Regions from separate parts of the Homo sapiens genome. Here region 2 is linked to region 1. The links are contacts of gene promoters, found by promoter capture Hi-C in human tissues and cell types (Jung and others, 2019). All regions are on one chromosome and are shown on one strand. The core of a region is centred on a gene start or on the middle of the fragment in contact, and the rest is flanking DNA. Distances in the headings are between cores, read along the strand shown.

Region 1 (3,545 bases), core at 393-2,892:
AAAACAAAACAAAACAAAAAAACCGTGAAAACTGCAATGCAAATGCTTGAAAATATCCTCTCATTTGTTCTAAGGGCAGGCTGGGCTGTGATCCCAGGGTGTGCTCACTTTGCAGAGCCCCATTCTAAGGGAGCAGTCAGCAAGCTCTTCTGTAAAGGTCCAGGTAGTAAATATTCTAGGCTTTGTAGAGCACATGGTCTGTCACAACTATGTCATCAACTCTGCCCATGCAAGAGCAGCCACATAAACATCTTAACAAATGAGCACCACGGCTGTGTTCCAGTAATATTTATTTATGGACACTGAAGTCTGAGTTTCACATAATTTTCACGTCACAAGATATTATTAACTTCTTGCGAAAAAGGATTCTCCCGGCTGAGCTAAAACAGGTCACATCCAGGGGTAAGAAATGCTAGTTCCCATCCAGCCCTTAGTCTTAGAAAAAGGCTCTACGCAGGCTGGGCGCGGTAGCTCACGCCTGTAATCCCAGCACTTTGGGAAGCCGAGGCGGGCGGATCACATGAGGTCAGGAGTTCGAGACCAGCCTGACCAACATGGAGAAACCCCGTCTCTACTAAAAATACAAAAATTAGCCGGGCGCGGTAGCGGGCGCCTGTAATCCCAGCTACTTGGGAGGCTGAGGCAGGGGAATCGCTTGAACCCGGGAGGCGGAGGTTGCAGTGAGCCGAGATCGTGCCACTGCATTCCAGCCTGGGCGACAGAGTGAGACTCTGTCTCAGAAAAAAAAAAAAGAAAGAAAAAGAAAAAGGCTCTACTCCAAACTCTTGCAGTGTTACTTTTATAATTTAGAACTACAAATAAATGAAGGGGTAGAAAATCAGTTTGTTGCTCTCCCTCCCCGATGGACTGGGGGACTTCAAGAATCTTGAGGACCAGATTTAGGATACAAGCCCTAAACCCTCATCTTACAAATCAAAAACACTGTGACACTGGGGCCCAAAACAAGAAAATGACTTAGCCAAGGTAAGTGGCCGAGCTGGTACAGGAATTCGGGTCCACTCCCTCTCAGCTCTGAGGATTCCTTATTCTCAAAGGTAGCTTCTGTTAAAGTCGGAACATGAGGAGTGAAGGGCTCAATATTCCTGCCAAGGAGGTAGGTGAACAAGTTACCCCTTAGCACCGGAATAATTATAGACCCCGACTTCAGGCTGTGCCTAGGTCCGGCTCAGGTGTCCAAAGAACCGTTCCAGGCACCCGAGGGGTGATCCCTGACTCCTCTGCTGGGTGCTCGTGCCAGCTAACAATGGGTGAAAATTGGGGTGAGGAGCTCCAGGTGCTTTCTGCGTCCTCTGAAGAGCTTTCGTGCCTTTATAACCACCGCGTTGGAAGGAAGAGCGCGGAGAAAGGTGCCCACTTTCTAAAAGAGAAAATTGAGGCCGAGCAAGGGGATCGCGACAGTGCGAAGCGAGATAGCAGCGGAACCAGCATTCGAACCCAGGTCCCTGAACTCCCAGCCCCGGGATCCTTCTCACCCCTAACCACAGTGGGACGAAGTGAGGCCGGGATCTCCGGAACCCGCCTCTCGCTACCAGGCGCCGGAGCTGCCGCTCCCGAGGTTCCTAGGAGATGCAGAAGACACTGCCCTGAATGCCTACAGCCGGCTGGCAATGCCGCCCCAGAGCAGAGCGGCGGGTGCCGCCTCGCCTTCTTATAGGCTCGCAGCACTTCCAGTCGCGCGCGAGGCCTCCTGGGAAGTGAAGTCCGGAGACCAGGGGTGGCCGGCTCCCAGCGCGCCAAGCTGCTAACCCCCTAACTCCCGTTCCTCCTCGGCGTTTCTTCTCCAAGTCCGAAGTCAGGGTCCAGGACTGCTGCGATGCATCAGCCCCGCCTCTCATCCCCCATCCAGAGGAGGCGGAAATGTTCAGGTGAACGCGAAGCCTCCCACTACGAGCCGGCCCTCAGCAAGGCCGTGCGCAGTGTGGGCGGGAGCCCTAAGTCAGCTAGCGGCGACGCTGGGAGGGCCCGGAGCAGGCCGGGCCCCGAACAGCGAAAGCTCCAACATGGCGGCCAGACTGGCCATAGAGCGGGAAGAGAAAGCCGGGGACTAGCAGGCCGCACGGCGCAGACGGGGCCCGCCTCCTCCATTTACTTCCGGAATTTAAAGCCGGCTTCCGGAAGCCGGGACGATGTCCGCATGACAACCGACGTTGGAGTTTGGAGGTGAGAGTGATTGACGAGGAGTGGGTTAAGTGACCAGAAGTCAGAATTTTTGGTGCTGTTGTTTTGGGCTTGGGTTTTATGCTTTGTTGTTGTTTGCCAAGGAAGCCTCGTTTTTAAGTGGATTGGGAAGCGTGAGGAATACTGCCCTAGGTACAAAGGGAAGGCGGCAGGTAGCGGTGGACGAATTAAAGAGCTTCATGAGCTTGTGAGTCTCCACTGCCCTAAACTGGAGGGGATCGTCGTACGTAGAGACAGGCATGGGCGTTTCTGCATAACGGATCCTCAAAACAGCCCTGGATGGTGGCCTATGAGTAGTGGTTAAGAGCACGGGTTTGGCGTCACAGTTATGAAGCCGGGTTCTGCTGACTTGAGACCTGGAGGAATGCCTTGAGCTCTGACTTCTGTGTCCTTTCCTGTAGAATAGGAATAATTCCCACCTTGCAGACTTGTAGGGAGGATTAAAGGAAACGATCTTGGTTGACAAGTTTATCGTGGTGTGAGTACCTAGGTAGTAGCTATCAGTGTTATTTAATGCGGCCGGGCGCAGTGGCTCACGCCTGTAATCCCAGCACTTTGGGAGGCCGAGGCGGGAGGATCACGAGGTCAGGAGATCGAGACCATCCTGGCTAACATGGTGAAACCCCGTCTCTACTAAAAATACAAAAAATTAGCCAGGCGTGGTGGCACGCACCTGTAGTCCCAGCTACTTGGGAGGCTGAGGCAGGAGAATCGCTTGAACCCGAGAGGCGGAGGTTGCAGTGAGCCAAGATCATGCCACTGCACTCCAGCCTGGCGACAGAGCGAGACACTCTCTCTCTCTCTAAAATTTAATGAATGAGGAAACCGCGAACATATGTCCAATAAGGTGGGACTTCACCAGCTGAGGTGGAGGAGGTGCCTTAACCTTCCGGAGCCTCTGTGTAAAATGGGGATAATATACATTGTAATGGCTACTTCTCAAGATGGTTGTAGGATTACGTAAGGTTAGAAATATGAAAAGAGCTTATAAATTGCAAAACATTTTACCGATGCTAATTTAATCGCTAACACTCCAGAGCATTTTGAAATTTCTTTATAGATTTGGCACAGCAGCGGGTCATAGGACACCCCCAGAGCAACTTGTGGGTCTTGGAATAGATGAAAAGAAACAACTGCCACTGTGTTGCAACCATAACCCTAAAGATAAAGCTTTCCAGGAGACCCCTGTTTCCTCTCTGCTTTTTCTGCCTAGGGCACTTCACACTTCTTTGCTGGCATTTTTCCTGCCTAGTTAAATACTAGTCTATCAATTATGTAAGAGACAGCTTAGTCCAGTAGTTAAGAGCACAGACTGTGGACCCGTGCAGCCTGCATCTGAATACTAG
Region 2 (3,545 bases), core at 782-3,281, 1.5 Mb after region 1:
TGCTATTTATCCTATTTATGTACCCTGTAGCATGCCTCCAGTCCTTGGCCTCTCCCAGGCAGTACCCTCTTTCTAGAATACCCTTATCCCCTTCTCCACCAGTCAAAATTCTACCCATCCCTCAAGAACCAGTTCAGACATCCAGTCCCCCCCACAGGCTTTCCAGACCTCACCTGTCAGAATTACCACCACCAAACCTATGCAGCCTGCTTCACAGCCCTCTTTCATCATCTTTGGAAGAAAGCAAGGCCAGTCATCCAACCACTTAGCACCTTCCTAATCTTTGCTTTCAGAGCTACATCACCTTGTTGGTGGTTGAGCTCAAGTTGAGCCCAGGAGTTTGAGACTGGCCTGGGCACACAGTGAGACCCCATCTCTATAAAAAACTTAAAAATTTAGCTGGGCAGGGTGACACCTGCCTGTGGTCCCAGGTACTCAGGAGGTTGAGGCGGGAGGATCGTTTGACCCCGGGAGGTTGAGGCTGTAGTGAGCCATGAATGCACCACTGCACTCAAGCCTAGGTGACACAGTGAGGCTCTGTCTCAAAAAATATAAATGAATTAATAATGAATTAATGAATGCATGCTTAAAACTTTTTTTGTTGTTTTTTTTGAGATGGAGTCTTGCTCTGTTTCACAGACTGGAGTGCACTGGTGCGATCTCTGCTCACTGCAACCTCTGCGGGACGGATTCAAGCGATTCTCCAGCCTCGGCCTCCCAAGTAGCTGGGATTACAGGCATGAGCCACCACACCCGGATAATTTTTGTATTTTTTTAGTAGAGAAGGGGTTTTACCGTGCTGGCCAGGCTGGTCTTGAACTCCTGACCTCAAGTGATCCACCTATCTCGGCCTTCCAAAGTGCTGGGATGACAGGCATGAGCCACCACACCCAGCCTTGCTTAAAACTATTAAATGACAAGCAGGCACAGTGGCTCACGCCTGTAATCCCAGCACTTTGGGAGTCCGAGGCAGGTGGATCACCTGAGGTCAGGAGTTCGAGACCAGCCTAGCCAATACGGTGAAACCCCGTCTCTACTAAAGATACAAAAATAGCCGCGCGTGGTGGCAGACGCCTGTAATCCCAGGTACTTGGGAGGCTGAGGCAGGAGTATCGCTTGAACCCGGGAGGCGGAGGTTGCAGTGAGCCGAGATCGCGCCACTGCACTCCAGCCTGGGCAACAAGAGCGAAAACTCCGTCTCCAAAAAAAAAAAAAACAAAAAACAAACACACACACACACAAAACTATTAAATGACTTGCCCATGGTTACTTAGAGGATTATAATGGAGTCAGGTGAAAAACCTTAGAGGATGAGAACTTTTTGAAGGCAGAAATTTTACCGGCAGCCCCTGTACTTCTCCCAGTGCCTGGAATTCAGTAGGTGTTCAATAAATGTGTGTTACAGGTATGAACTACATAAGGCAGAAACCCAGGTCCCTGTCACCCATTCAAAGCCGTGTCACTAAGAGTTTGCCTGTCGCCATCATTCCAGTATCCTCAGGGAGCATCAACGCTCTCCCTTCGGCCCTGAGTTTAGCGAGGGGATTGGTCTTACCCGTCGGCCTGGGCGAGGCCACGGAACATGCCCTCCCCGCCCGGGCAGTGTCTCTGACCCTGGAATATGCCATCCTCGGTGCTGAAGTGCTTCACCGTCCTGTCCGCGCAGCCCACCAGCATCTGCGGCAAAGAAGGGCAAGATGGCGAGGAGAGCGAGGCTGCTGCGCCCCAGGCCCCCAGCTCCGGCCCGACCAGGGGCCACTCACCTGGGTCTCGCCGCCGGTGCCCCAACACAGGGCGCTCACTGCCTCCTCGCGCCGCGGCTGTCCTCCGGCCGTGAAGTTCGCCGCCTGTTTTCGCTGAAGATTTACCCCTGAGAGACGAAGGCGTCAGTCACGCCAGGGGCGCGAGTGCACCCCTGCACTTCCCGACGCCCGAGCCTGCCACCCACCTTTCAAGATCCCAGTCTCGGTGCCGACCCACACATGGTTCCAGCGTGCAGCAGCAGCCGCCATGACAAAGCCTGGAGGCAGACAGTTCACACTTCCGGCGCAGCGTGTGCGTCACCAGCGGGCGTCGAGTCCGATGCAGCGCAGTGTAGTTGCTGGAAGTTTGAAGAGCCGAAACAGTAAAGCTTCCATGCTTGTTTTGCTTTACGAAAATGAAACCAGGAGGTGCTTGTTTATGTAGATCGGAAGAATACATTGATCATTTTGCACTTGGGGGTGAAAAGCACCTTTCCTGGACTGCGTGGCCGGATCAAGCCAGCCCTAGTCTGTCTCCCGGCTCCATTATGTAATATGTGTTCTGGACTGTTAGACAAGAAACAACAAACGATTTAAGAAACGATTTAAGAAACACTTTAGAAACGATTCAAATCATTAATGATGTGTGGGGCTTCGTTCTGGAATATAAGTCACGAAAGAAAGATGGGAAAAGGAAACCGACGATTTTTTTTTTCTTTTGAGAGAACTTCGCCCTTGTTGCCCAGGCTGGAGTGCAATGGCGCGATCTCCTCTCACCTCAACCTCCGCCTCCCGGGTTCAAGCGATTCTTCTGCCTCAGCCTCCCAAGTAGCTGGGATTACAGCTGGTATTACTAAACCACCGCGCCCGGCCTCGTTTACTCTTCAAGAGGCGGACAGCGAGGCGCGGTGGCTCACGCCTGTAATCCCAGCACTTTGGGAGGCCGAGGCGGGCGGATCATGAGGTCAGGAGATCGAGACCATCTTGGCTAACACGGTGAATCCCCGTCTCTACTAAACATACAAAAACAAAACTAGCCGGGCGTGGTGGCGGGCGCCTGTAGTCCCAGCTACTCCGGAGGCTGAGGCAGGAGAATGGCGTGAACCCGGGAGGAGGAGCTTGCAGTGAGCCGAGATTGCGCCACTGCACTCCAGCCTGGGCGTCAGAGACTCCGTCTCAAAAAAAAAAAACAAAAACAACTAAAAGTACTCTGTGCTATGCTACATGAGAAACGCAGAGAAAGTCATCGCTCAGTAGAAATACAGTAATAGCGCATGCGTAAATAGGAGAGGGAAGTCGCTACTTTACCTAGAGATTAACACAGAAAAGCAACAAATTACCAGTTTACAAGTAAACCCTTTATCTAACGCGAAGATTTATTTATTTTTTGAGATGGAATCTTGCTCTGTCTCTCAGGCTAGAGCGCCCGCCACCAGGCCTGATTCACTTTTCTTTTGGTTTTTTAGTGAAGACGGGATTTTTCACACCATGTTAGTCAGGCTGGAATTACCCAATCCGCCCGCCCCAACCTCCCGAAGTGCTAGGATTTCACGCTTGAAACCCCGAGCGCGACCTAGGTTTAACACATCAAACGCGAAACCAGGCCGGGCGCGGTGGCTCACGCCTGTAATCCCACCACTTTGGGAGGCCGAGGCGGGCGGATCACGAGCTCAGGAGATCGAGACCATCCTGGTTAACACGTTGTGAAACCCTGTCTCCACTAAAAATACAAAACAGGCCGGGCGCGGTGGCTCACGCCTGTATTCCCAGCACTTTGGGAGGCTGAAGCGGGCGGATCACAAG

The links. Contacts are between HindIII fragments. The study calls those that stand out against the background at their distance.
Region 2: the fragment with the promoter of WDR74 here is called in contact with the fragment with the promoter of CYB561A3 in region 1 in 1 of the 25 tissues and cell types used here (stomach).

The regions. Positions count from the first base shown.
Region 1 is chr11:61,360,240-61,363,784 of GRCh38, forward strand. It overlaps CYB561A3 (cytochrome b561 family member A3), which reads right to left and starts at 1,643. Exons shown (of 7, transcript NM_153611.6): 1 at 1,494-1,643. TMEM138 (transmembrane protein 138) reads left to right here and starts at 2,135. Exons shown (of 5, transcript NM_016464.5): 1 at 2,135-2,181. RefSeq lists enhancers at 1,194-1,413, 1,532-2,253, 1,664-2,153. The HindIII fragment of the contact is 8,596 bases long and covers 1-3,545 here.
Region 2 is chr11:62,837,559-62,841,103 of GRCh38, forward strand. It overlaps WDR74 (WD repeat domain 74), which reads right to left and starts at 2,032. Exons shown (of 11, transcript NM_001369450.1): 1 at 1,949-2,032; 2 at 1,764-1,870; 3 at 1,556-1,677. The coding sequence starts at 2,012. RefSeq lists enhancers at 1,456-1,585, 1,696-1,815, 1,876-2,215, 2,286-2,425, 3,056-3,225 and a silencer at 3,356-3,405. The HindIII fragment of the contact is 7,487 bases long and covers 16-3,545 here.